Linked DNA regions of Homo sapiens: all the other regions are linked to region 1. The links are contacts of gene promoters, found by promoter capture Hi-C in blood cells and fetal thymus (Javierre and others, 2016). All regions are on one chromosome and are shown on one strand. The core of a region is centred on a gene start or on the middle of the fragment in contact, and the rest is flanking DNA. Distances in the headings are between cores, read along the strand shown. Region 1 holds the start of DVL1 (dishevelled segment polarity protein 1). Region 2 overlaps LOC100288175 (a long non-coding RNA gene). Region 3 overlaps AGRN (agrin). Region 4 overlaps MIB2 (MIB E3 ubiquitin protein ligase 2).

Region 1 (2,700 bases), core at 75-2,574:
TCCCCCCGTCGCTCCTGCCCCGTCCAGGCCCCCTCCTCACTCCCCCCGTCGCTCCTGCCCCGTCCAGGCCCCCTCCTCACTCCCCCCGTCGCTCCTGCCCCGTCCAGGCCCCCTCCTCACTCCCCCCGTCGCTCCTGCCCCGTCCAGGCCCCCTCCTCACTCCCCCCGTCGCTCCTGCCCCGTCCAGGCCCCCTCCTCACTCCCCCCGTCGCTCCTGCCCCGTCCAGGCCCCCTCCTCACTCCCCCCGTCGCTCCTGCCCCGTCCAGGCCCCCTCCTCACTCCCCCCGTCGCTCCTGCCCGGTCCAGGCCCCCTCCTCACTCCCCCCGTCGCTCCTGCCCGGTCCAGGCCCCCTCCTCACTCCCCCCGTCGCTCCAGCCCCGTCCAGGCCCCCTCCTCACTCCCCCCGTCGCTCCTGCCCCGTCCAGGCCCCCTCCTCACTCCCCCCGTCGCTCCTGCCCCGTCCAGGCCCCCTCCTCACTCCCCCCGTCGCTCCTGCCCCGTCCAGGCCCCCTCCTCACTCCCCCCGTCGCTCCTGCCCCGTCCAGGCCCCCTCCTCACTCCCCCCGTCGCTCCTGCCCCGTCCAGGCCCCCTCCTCACTCCCCCCGTCGCTCCTGCCCCGTCCAGGCCCCCTCCTCACTCCCCCCGTCGCTCCTGCCCCGTCCAGGCCCCCTCCTCACTCCCCCCGTCGCTCCTGCCCCGTCCAGGCCCCCTCCTCACTCCCCCCGTCGCTCCTGCCCCGTCCAGGCCCCCTCCTCACTCCTCCCATCCTGGGCCGCCCTCTAGTGGCCTCCGCGCTTCCTGCTGGGGTCGGGTCGGGAAGGCCTCCAGCCCCGCGAGCCCCGGAACAGTAAGCGCGGACGCCCCGCGGCCTCAAGGGACGCCTCGGAAGTCTCCCCTGCCCTGCGGAGAACCCCAGGACTAAATCCCTCCCGCCGCCGGGCGCTCCGACGCCTCCGTGCACGCCCGCGCCCCCGCGCGCCCCGCATCCGCTCGGCCTGCTGCCTGGACCCCGTGGGACCCGGCAGAGGGCACGCGAGTCGGGAGCCTTCGCGGTGGCGCAGAGCGACCGGGCGCCACCTCAGCGCCGCGCACCCGGCGTCCCCGGGGTCCCTCCGCCCGACCCGAGCGCCCCGGCGCCCACGGGCCCACAGCCAGCGGCGCGCGTCGCATGCGCCGGATCATAATGGAGCGCGGGCCCGCGCGCGGGGGCGGGGCCGGGGCGGGGCGGGGCGAGCGATGATCGCCTGCGTCTGCGCATCCTCGCCCCGCCCCCGCCGTGCGCCCCCGTGACGTCAACGCCGCGCGCTCGGGCGCCCCCCCGCGGCCACGCTCAGGACCCCGGGCCGGGCGGTCCCTTTAACGGCGCGGCCCGAGGGGCGCAGGCGGGAGGGCGGCGGGGCTGAGCGCGCCCTCCGTGCTGCGTCCCTCGCGCCGCTCCCGGGCCGGGGGCGGATGGGCGGCCGCGGGCCGCGGGGCAGCAGTCGGGACGCGCGCGGGAGCCGGGGGCGGCGGCCGGGGCCTGGGCGGTCGGGCGGGGGCGCCCGGGGGCCTCGGAGCGTCGGGGCCGAGAGCGGTGCGGGCCGGGCGGGGCGCAGGCGGGCGGGCGGGTAGCGCCCCGCGTCCGAGCCCCGGGCCGGGCCCTGAGCGCGCGGGCTCCGCGCCGCCGCCGCGCCATGGCGGAGACCAAGATTATCTACCACATGGACGAGGAGGAGACGCCGTACCTGGTCAAGCTGCCCGTGGCCCCCGAGCGCGTCACGCTGGCCGACTTCAAGAACGTGCTCAGCAACCGGCCCGTGCACGCCTACAAATTCTTCTTTAAGTCCATGGACCAGGACTTCGGGTCAGTCGGCCGCGAGGCCTGCGCGAGCCTGGCGCGGGCTCGGGGGTCGCACCTGCCCGCGCGGGGACGGGGCGGGGGTCCTGAGCCGTTCGCGCCCCCGGGGACCTGCGACCGCGACGCGCCTCCGCTAGATGCGGCGCGGGTGGCGGCCTCGGCCCGTGTGCGGCGCGCGCCCACCTGTCCGTGGAGCGGGGCGATGGCAGGCGGGGTTCCCGGCGTCCCTGGCCCCAGCTTCCCGGCCCCGAGTCCTGCCTTGGCCCGTGTCAGACTCGGTCGGCCGCATCGCTTCCACCGGGGCTGGCCGGGAGCGCCTGCCGTTGGTGCGGGCTGGGGTCAGGGGCGTGTCAGTGGGAAGGAAGCAGGGTGGGGTTCCCTAGCTGGGATGGGGAGACATGGGGGTACAGGTTCACCAACCTGTCTGCTAGGGTTTGCAGAAGCTTCCCGAGGGTCAAGACAGGTTCTCCTGGCCCCCTTCTGCAGGGTCCTTGTGACAGGGTGGAGGTCAAGGGCCACTGGTGACCATGAAACTTTATTCGCCTACCCGTGTCCTGAGCTTCCTGTGGGCCCCGTCCCCACTGAGCCACAAAGCACTTGCGTTCCCGGAGCAGCCCAGACCATCTGCTGTTTCGGGGCAGCCTGGGTCAGCGTCTCCCTGCTGGGCCTCGGTGGTGGTGTCCCAGGCGAGGAGACCCCTGCTGTGCTGAGCTGGGCCCTCTGGGACAGGGAGCAGGAGCCTGGCGGTCTGCTTGAGGCCTGGCCTGGCCCGGCCCAGCCACCAGTAACCTGAGTCCCTAGTCCCAGCTCAACAGTGCTGGGGGCGGGCTCAGGCCTCGTGGCCCCAGGAGGTGAGCCTC
Region 2 (2,899 bases), core at 342-2,841, 280 kb after region 1:
GGCTTGCCGGTAGCGGTGGGGTCGTCCTGAGGGGTGGGGTCGTCCTGAGGGGTGGGGTCGTCCGGAGGGGTGGGGTCGCCCGGAGGGGTGGGGCTATAGCAGGGCAGGGCGGGGGGACCCAGAGTGGAGCGGCTCGCCCTGCCTGCGGATGACGTCCACCAGGATGTCAATCACGATGATGGTGCCCGTGCATCCGATGCCCCCACTGAGGACAAACTAGGCGGCCTTTGACGAGAGTGGGGGGCGGGGGCGGGGGCGCCCCCGCCCACCCGATGGCTCCGCCCTCGTCGTCCCGCGTGGCCCCGCCCCGCCGCACCTGCACCTGCACAGCCCGCGTGGCCCCGCCCCGCCGCACCTGCATCTGCACAGCCCGCGTGGGCCCGCCCCGCCGCAGCTGAAGTGCACCACCATGGGCCCGGCCCGCGGCTTGCTGCTCTGGGCCCGGTTCACCTCGTCCCGGAAGCCGAGGACGCCGGCGGGATCGGCCCGGACGCCGTAGTCCGGCCAGCCGAAGTACTGGAAGTGCTGCACCGTACGCTGTGGCTCCTCCTGAGCGGGGCAAGCGGTGAGTGTGACCCCAGGGTGGGAGGAGGAGGCTGAGGCACAGCTGGGTTTCCGGGAGTGCCCAAGCGGAGGGGCTGCGGGAGCCAAGGCGAGCAGGAGGAGGAGGAAGGAAATGGGGAGGGGGCGCCGAGATGGCCCCAGGTGGCTCAGGTGCCTGGGGAAGGGAAGAGGGAGCTGGGGGCGGGCGAAGCAGGCTGTGAGGACAGTTATTTTATAAGGAAAAACCAAATGTGAGGGGTCCATGGGGTCCTGGAGGACCCCCCCACACACACTGGGCGGGGGCTGGAGGGAACACGAGGTAATCTGCCCGGAGCAGAAATGGGCGTCTCTGGTATACAACGGAGACCAAAGCTGCAGTTGGAGAGGTGTGTGGGAGGAGCGGCCGCCAGCCCAGGGCTGAGAATGTGGCCACGTCAGTGACCCCTGTCCAGGCTTGGAATGCACCTCCTGGGTTGAGGGGTGTGGAAGCCCCCAAAGGCAGTGGGGTTGGATGCAGGCAGGTGTGGGGTCTCCCAGTGCAGGCCGACAGCAGGCACGCTCCACAGCCGCCAGGCTCACCTGGCCCGGCCGCCACACCTGCAGCTCCCGCACGCAGTAGCCCTGGGCCTGGCCCTTGCCGAGGACGCGCATGTGCACACGGCCGAACTCTTGGCTGCCGGGCAGCTCTGGCCAGTCCCGGAAACACTTGTTCCGAGGGGAGCGCTTTGCATCAGCCTTGCTGGCAGCACCTCGGCACCCCGCCCCTGCGACCTGCAGAGACGCAGGTGTGTACGTGCAGCCACGGGGCTCTGTGGGAGCCTCCCCACTCCCACGGCGTCCCACAGCCTCCTTGGCCTGGTCGGGAAGGGCCTTGGGCAGCCGAAGATGCACGGGGTGGGATGGGCACTGGGAGCACTGGCACCGCACCCCTACCCGGCCCCGCTCCATCTCCCTGGTGGTCATGACGATGACACGCGTGTTCTCCTGGTGCACCGTGGCCCAGAAAGCAGCCACCGTGGCCTGCAGACAGGCCTGCAGACAGCCCTGCAGGCGATGTACACCCTGCGCCCGCGAGGCCCTGCCCCGCGGGGAGGAGCCACAGCGTACGGTGCAGCACTTCCAGTACTTCGGCTGGCCGGACTACGGCGTCCGGACCGATCCCGCCGGCGTCCTCGGCTTCCGGGACGAGGTGAACCGGGCCCAGAGCCGCGAGCCGCGAGCCGCGGGCCGGGCCCATGGTGGTGCACTTCAGCTGCGGCGGGGCGGGCCCACGCGGGCTGTGCAGGTGCAGGTGCGGCGGGGCAGGGCCACAAGGGATGTCCACCCTGCCCCTGCCATGGCCCGGCTCCTCCTCAGGGTCAGTCTGAAAGGGAATGAGGCCAACTGCTGCTGTTAACAGAGGACAAACAAGTCCATGCAAATGCTATGCAAATGATATGCAAACGACACACAAATATTATGCAAAGAGCCCTGGTGGCTTAAACACACTCCTCACTCCAGGCCAGCAAGGGGCTGAGGACCAATGCCCGTCCAGCCTCTCTGAGGACCCCTTGGAGACTGCCGCCCACCCCTCCCTTGGGGACCCTGGTTCTTCCTGAGCCCCCCAGGAGCAATGGGCCCAGGCCCCGCCTCCCGCACACACCCACCCTGATGTAGTCGGCTCCGGGCCCGCTGTCATCCTCGTTGAGCAGGATGACTCAAGGGTAGCATCAACTGGGAAGGGAGGTGCCGCTCAGTTCTCCAGGGCACAGCTCGTGGGCCTCACCCTGCCTCTTTGCCCGCAGACCCTGTGGTGAGCAGAGATGGAGGGTCCAGGGTATGCAAGGGGGAGCCTCAGGTCAGCGGTGGCAGATGCTCGGCCTGCCCCCCACCTCCCCCAGGCCCGACGGGTGACGCCCTGGCCTCCGCCCTCACAGGGAAGGATGTTCTTGTAGTGATTCTTGGGCTTGTTCTCCACACTCTGCCCCTCCTTCCGAGGGTACAGGAACCGGCATTCCTGCTGCTGCAGCATCTGGAGGTGATGGAGCCTTCAGCTCACAGCCCCGGCCCCTTCCCAGAGCCCGAGATGGCCACCCCCAGCCCGTCCCGTGTGGGCGGAAGAGTACCTAGGTGCCGAGGCAAGAGACTGAAGGCACAAACTGTTTCAGTATAATAAAGAAAATAGAATAAGAATAGTCATAATACAAATTAGATACAGCGATGATCATGAACAATTATCCATCATTATTATAAACATTATTAATCATTAGCTTTTAATATTACTCTGTTGCATTAATAATATAACCTAGGAATAACCGGCAGGTATAGGGTCAGGTGCTGAAGGGACATTGTGAGAAGTGAATAGAAGGCAAGAGGG
Region 3 (2,729 bases), core at 9-2,508, 310 kb after region 1:
CAGGACCCCAAGAGGAACATGATGGATGAAGATGGCATGTGATGTCCAGGCAGGGACTGACGCAGGAGCAGCCCACCCCGCCTGGCCTCCACCCCGGGGCGCTCACCACACGGGCCCTGGTGCTTGCTGGGGATGGCACGCTGCTGCCGGCACTCAGCCTGCTGCCGCCAGCAATCACTGTCATACGTGCGCCCGTCCTGGGCACACACGGGCCTGTAGGCCCCGTCACAGGTGACGCGGTCGCAGGAGCAGCGGGGACGGCCACGGCGGGACAGGCACACGGCATTGAACCGGCAGGGCTCCGGGCACTGGTCTAGGACGCAGGGGTGAGGGAGTCACGGAGAGGCTGGAGCACCCTCCATCCCTGCCCTGGGATGTGCAGGGAGCAGGGGAGCAGGCGGCCCTCCCAGAGGGGAGCCGCCCACCTCGACCCTGGCACTGGCCGCAGCCCTCCCCCGGGGGAGCCGCCCACCTCGACCCTGGCACTGGCCGGAGCCCTCCCCCGGGGGAGCCGCCCACCTCGACCCTGGCACTGGCCGGAGCCCTCCCCCGGGGGAGCCGCTCACCTCGACCCTGGCACTGGCCGGAGCGCACTTTCTGCAGGAGGAGACCCCGGGCGGCCCCCGATCGGCCCATGACACAGTCGTTTTCGTAGGTGACTCCGTCGTCCCCACACACTGGCGCCTGCCGGGCAGGGCAGCTCTCGGGCCGTAGGAGCATCTCAGGGCGCCGCGTGCGCGGGTTCACACGGCAGCTGCGGCTCGGGTCAGGGAGGGCGCCCTGACAGGGGTCTGGGGGTCGAGGGCAGGAGTCAGGACGCTGTCGCCGCGCGCCCACAGAGCTCGAGCCGTGCGCCCGCCGCCGCGCTCACCACAAGGGCCGTCGAACTTCTTGAAGACATTCTCCTGGCGGGCGCAGGCGCGGCGCAGGAGCTGGCACTCGCCGGGGTAGTCGGCGCCGTCGCTGCCGCAGACGGTCCCCTCGGGGGCGCCACGGCAGGTCGCGGGGCACAGGCACGAGGCCGTCAGCCCGTCGGCCGAGCGCGCACAGGTGCTGCCGAAGCTGCAGGTCACGTTGGAGCAGGGGTCCCGCGAGCCTGCGGGCGGGGCTTTGCCGGTCAGACGGGCCGCCCCCGCCCCCGCTCCCGCCCCGCTCCCGCCCCGCTCCGCCCCCCAGGCCCCTCCCAGCCCCGCTCCTCCCCGCCGGGCCCCGCAGGCCCCGCCCCCGCTCCCGCCCCGCTCCGCCCCCCAGGCCCCTCCCAGCCCCGCTCCTCCCCGCCGGGCCCCGCCCCTGCCCCCGCCCCACTGGCCCCGAAGCCCCTCCCAGCCTCGCTCCATCTCATAGGCCCCGCCCCTCCCCGCCCCAGGCACCGGCCCCGCCCCGCTCACCGCACGGCCCGCGGCTGAGCAGGCGGATGCGGCGCTGCTGGCTGCACTGCGCCCGCTGCAGCTCGCATTCGTTGCTGTAGGTGGAGGCGTCCGACCCACACACAGGCGCCACCACGCTGGGGCACGGGCTCTTCTTGCAGACGCAGGACGCCCGGCCCGGCCCCTCCGCGTTGGGCTCGCACACGGCGCCGAAGCCGCACAGCATTCCCCGGCACGCTGGGGCGGGTAGGGGAGAAAGCTCAGGGTGCCGAGACGCCCGTACCCACGTCCACAAGCCTGAGAGACCTTGCCGTGCTCGCAGCCCGCGCATTCACCCGCCCCCGCGCCGCATCGGGGGTCCACCACGGACACGGACACGCGTGCGTGCGCTCACAGGACCGGCCCTGCCCCTCGCAGACCCCGCCCGCCGAGGATTCCCGCCAGCCCCGGGCCTCTCCAGGGATGACCTTTCTCCCCCACCCCGCACCTGCAGGCGCGGAGAGGGGCGTCTGCCGCAGGCGGCACCCGACTCTGTTTCTGCGACGGGCGAGCACCCACTTCCCACCCACCTCGTGGGCCTCCAGCGAAAAGCAGAGACGCCTCGAAACCAACTCGGGCACAAGCAGTCCAGGCCCCAGTTCTGCTCAGGAGCTCCTTCCACATCGGCACCGGAGCCCCTCACCGATTCACCCCATGGAGCCGGGGGAGCCCCTTCCCGCGCTGCTGCAGCGTCCAGCACAGCTGAGCCCTGCCGCCTCCCGCCCGGGTCGCACCCAGGTCCCGCGTCTGGCCCTCAGGGGCCTGAGAGCCCCACCGGGACGGGGTGTGAGGCCAGGTCACAGCTCTGGCCCACCTCTGGCGCCTCCCTGACCGCTCCCTGCGCCTAAGATGGGTGGGGAATCTTCTTGCCTCCCTCTCCCCAACTCTTCCCCAGCTTCCCTGGAGAAGTGCAAATTCCTGGCCTCCGCCTCTACTATCTCCTATTCTCCCTGGCCAGCCCCCCACCCGCGGCAGGCCTGTGCCCTTCTGCAGCCTCCCATCGCTCCCTGGGATCCCTGGGGCACCCACACGCCCCCTCCTCCCTGGGCATCCCCCGGCCCCCCACCTCACTCTTGCCTCCTCCATCGCCCTCACTCTCTGTCAAAGCGAACTTCCTTCTTGGAGAGGTGCAGGAACTGTTGCTCATTTTAGTTCTTACAGCTGCAGACCACAGCGCCTGACACACGTCCCATCACCAGACCTCAACGTGGCCAACAAAGCTGCCTCAGGCACGTTAAAACCCAGAGCCCCTGCGGCAGCCCATCCTGAGCACCCCCACCCCCAGCATGGCCCACCCAGGATCAGGGAAGGGTCCGTTAGCGG
Region 4 (2,728 bases), core at 153-2,652, 270 kb before region 1:
CAGTATCCTGGACCCTCTGGAGGGGCCAGCAGTTTTGGTTTTTTTGAGACGTAATCTCGCTCTGTCGCCCAGGCTGGAGCGCAGTGGCGCAATCTCAGCTCACTGCAAGCTCCGCCTCCCAAGTTCACGCCATTCTCCTACCTCAGCCTCCCGAGTAGCTGGGACTACAGGCGTCTGCCACCACACCTGGCTCATTTTTTCTATTTTTTAGTAGAGACGGGGGTTTCACCGTGTTAGCCAGGATGGTCTCGATCTCCTGACCTCGTGATCCGCCCGCCTCGGCCTCCCAAAGTGCTGGGATTCCAGGTGTGAGCCACTGTGCCCGGCCGCCAGCAGCTTTTGAGGCTCTGCCGCCTTTCTCCTCAGCTCCTTCCTGCAGCTGCCTGCCTGGCTTTCTCACCATTGCCCCAGGGCCAGCAGTCACCCAAGACCTGCCACTGGGCTCCTGGCACCCTGGCCCCAGGGCTCAGTACCTGCCTCCGAAGGCCTCTCTAGGGGGTGTTTGTGGTGGGGGCAGGAGGCAGTAATGAGACCCCCACAGGCAGGGAGGAGGGGCACCCCGCCAGGACCCAGCACTTGTATCCCTTGGTCTCTTCTCAAAGGGGACAGAGTGCACCTGCTTAGGGGCGGGAGGATCCAGCCCAGCATCGAGGGGCCTGCCCCATTCCCATTGTTCATGAGAGGTGGGGGCTGTGGGGTCGCACAAGCAGCCTGCCCATGTCAGAGGGAAGCTTGTGGACAAAAGGGCTCATCCCTTGGGCTTCCCTGACCATCCTGTCCTCCTGGGGCCATGGGACAGGTTCTGGGCTGGGTCTGGGTCAAGCTGACCCCGAGGGTACTGGCCACAGGACCCATCCCCTGGGCAGGCCTGGGAGCAGGTGATGTGGGGCTGGCGCTTGGCACACCCGCTGCAGACCTCAGGTGAGGACTTCCTGGAGGCAGGTGAGGAACACCAGATTAGGGGTAGGAGTGGGGTGGGCAGCCTGGAAATCAAGCCCTCTAGGACAGATGTTCCCCCAAGGGCCCCTCACTCCCTCTGCCTCCACCCTGGACCTGTCCAGCATCCATTCCTTCCTGGAGAGCAGGAGGCCTCTGGGTTGCCCCCTCCTATTTTTCTGTTCTACACCCACAAGGCTCCAGGTGCAGAGGAGGGGACCCGTGGGACCTGATCACCCTGATCACCTGCCCACAGCGGGTGAGCTCTGGGCCAGAGGCTGCTATGGGAAGTGCAGATGTCCAAGGCTAGCCCTGCCCTCACACCAACCTGGCCAAGGTTTCCCAGAAAGACAAACCAGAGACAGCCACAGCCACAGCCCAGCACTGGTGGAGGGGCTCCAGGGAGCAGACCAGCAGACCAGAGCTGTGGCCACGCAGCCCCTGGTGTACATCGTGGCGTACATGGCTGTGGCCACTCCTGCTCCTCCTCTTGGAAACATACAGCCCAGGCTTCCGCTTCAGGATGCTGCCCCACAATGGGTATCTTCATCTCAGTCAGAAATTTACTCAGAGAGTTACCAAATGTTTTTTCCTTTGCCAGAAATGCTAGACTTTGCCATCTACCCACAGTTCACAGGCTGTGCCCCTGGCTGGCATCTGAACCCCGCTGCAGGCAACTGCTCCCGATGTTTAAAATGATGGAGGCAGTCAGGGTGTGAAGACTCGGGCGACAGATCGACAGATGTGCTTTGGCAAATCGGAACTTACCTCAGAGCACACACCAGCCTCGAGGCAGCGTCCCAGGCATTTAATTGCTACTTCCTGGGTCACAGATTCGCTCGGCTACCAGGCTTTCCTGTTGGAAGCTAAAGCCACTGGAGACACAACACAGCAAACCAGACGGGCAGCCAGCAAGCCAGGCTGGAGAAAATGGTTTCTAAAGGCAGTGTCACACATTTAGCATTTACCGTCTTAACCACGCAAGCAGACACCGGGTCTGTTCTATTGCTGCTTAGTTTCTCTTTTTCACAAGAAACTGCAAGCTCTCAGAGGGCAGGAGGACTTCCGAACCATCAGTCAGGAGAGTGTAGGAGGAGAGAGTTCCCTTATTGCAAGTATTTTATCGGAGAAGCTTTAAAAGCCATAGAAACCAAATCCTATTTAGCGAGAAAGTTAGCAAATTGCCTTTATTCAGAAGAAGCAAGTTACATGGAACTGGACATGAGGCTGCCCTCCTCCTTGCACCTCCAGCTGTGCCTAATGACACCGAAATGCCGCTGTGTGTGGCACGCCACAGGCCATGGAGTAGCTCCAGCTAACGCAGATGGACATCCCAGGTGCCCCAGGGAGATCAGGCCCACGGAGTGGGATGAAGCCCTGAGGCGGGGAGGCCAGCATGGAGACACCTGCTGAGGGAAAGCCCACGAGCGCTGCGGCCACCTCCAATCCTGCCCATCTGGGTGGAGACCTACAGGCACCCTGCAGGCTGGGGTGTCATCCCACTCACCGCCCAGGGCTGCCCTCGGCCAGGAGAGCGCCACATTCAGACACTTGTTGCATGTGAGGCAACAGGCCAGGGTGGAACCGGACAAAGGGGGCCTCCCGGGAAGGGCCAGGCTTGCCGGCGCTCCTGCGCTGCGGCCGCTCTGCCCCAATCCTGCAGGTGCCTATCAGAGGCCTGTCTGGCACCTCTGCTTTCTTCCTCCATGGGTTCCGAACTCAGAGAGGAGACGCGGGATTACTCACCACTCCCCTCCACTCGCATGCATGCTCAGACACAAACACAGCCTCT

Evidence for each region. Contacts are between HindIII fragments. The CHiCAGO score rates a contact against its expected background, and 5 or more counts as called.
Region 2: a contact is called between a fragment that was not itself captured here and the fragment with the promoter of DVL1 in region 1, in 1 of 17 cell types (activated CD4 T cells). The highest score is 5.3, in activated CD4 T cells.
Region 3: a contact is called between a fragment that was not itself captured here and the fragment with the promoter of DVL1 in region 1, in 1 of 17 cell types (M0 macrophages). The highest score is 5.5, in M0 macrophages.
Region 4: a contact is called between a fragment that was not itself captured here and the fragment with the promoter of DVL1 in region 1, in 1 of 17 cell types (activated CD4 T cells). The highest score is 5.0, in activated CD4 T cells.

Annotation. Positions count from the first base shown.
Region 1 is chr1:1,348,042-1,350,741 of GRCh38, reverse strand. It overlaps DVL1 (dishevelled segment polarity protein 1), which reads left to right and starts at 1,324. Exons shown (of 15, transcript NM_001330311.2): 1 at 1,324-1,846. The coding sequence starts at 1,677. RefSeq lists silencers at 703-852, 873-1,192, 1,293-1,472, 2,633-2,700 and an enhancer at 2,362-2,700. The HindIII fragment of the contact is 21,682 bases long and covers 1-2,285 here.
Region 2 is chr1:1,066,227-1,069,125 of GRCh38, reverse strand. LOC100288175 (a long non-coding RNA gene) reads right to left here. Exons shown (of 4, transcript NR_148960.1): 4 at 2,673-2,899. It overlaps LOC105378948 (a long non-coding RNA gene), which reads left to right. Exons shown (of 5, transcript NR_168433.1): 1 at 1-565; 2 at 1,086-1,328; 3 at 2,328-2,380; 4 at 2,528-2,660. Among named protein-coding and RNA genes, the nearest start is that of RNF223, 6.6 kb to the left of the region's middle. RefSeq lists silencers at 1-62, 223-412. The HindIII fragment of the contact is 4,423 bases long and covers 1-2,899 here.
Region 3 is chr1:1,039,540-1,042,268 of GRCh38, reverse strand. It overlaps AGRN (agrin), which reads right to left. Exons shown (of 36, transcript NM_198576.4): 4 at 1,389-1,604; 5 at 872-1,096; 6 at 567-791; 7 at 107-313. Among named protein-coding and RNA genes, the nearest start is that of AGRN, 21 kb to the right of the region's middle. RefSeq lists a silencer at 1,280-1,489 and an enhancer at 2,045-2,723. The HindIII fragment of the contact is 3,981 bases long and covers 1-2,729 here.
Region 4 is chr1:1,616,692-1,619,419 of GRCh38, reverse strand. The region is part of intron 2 of MIB2 (MIB E3 ubiquitin protein ligase 2); the gene reads right to left. Among named protein-coding and RNA genes, the nearest start is that of MIB2, 2.6 kb to the right of the region's middle. The HindIII fragment of the contact is 1,337 bases long and covers 734-2,070 here.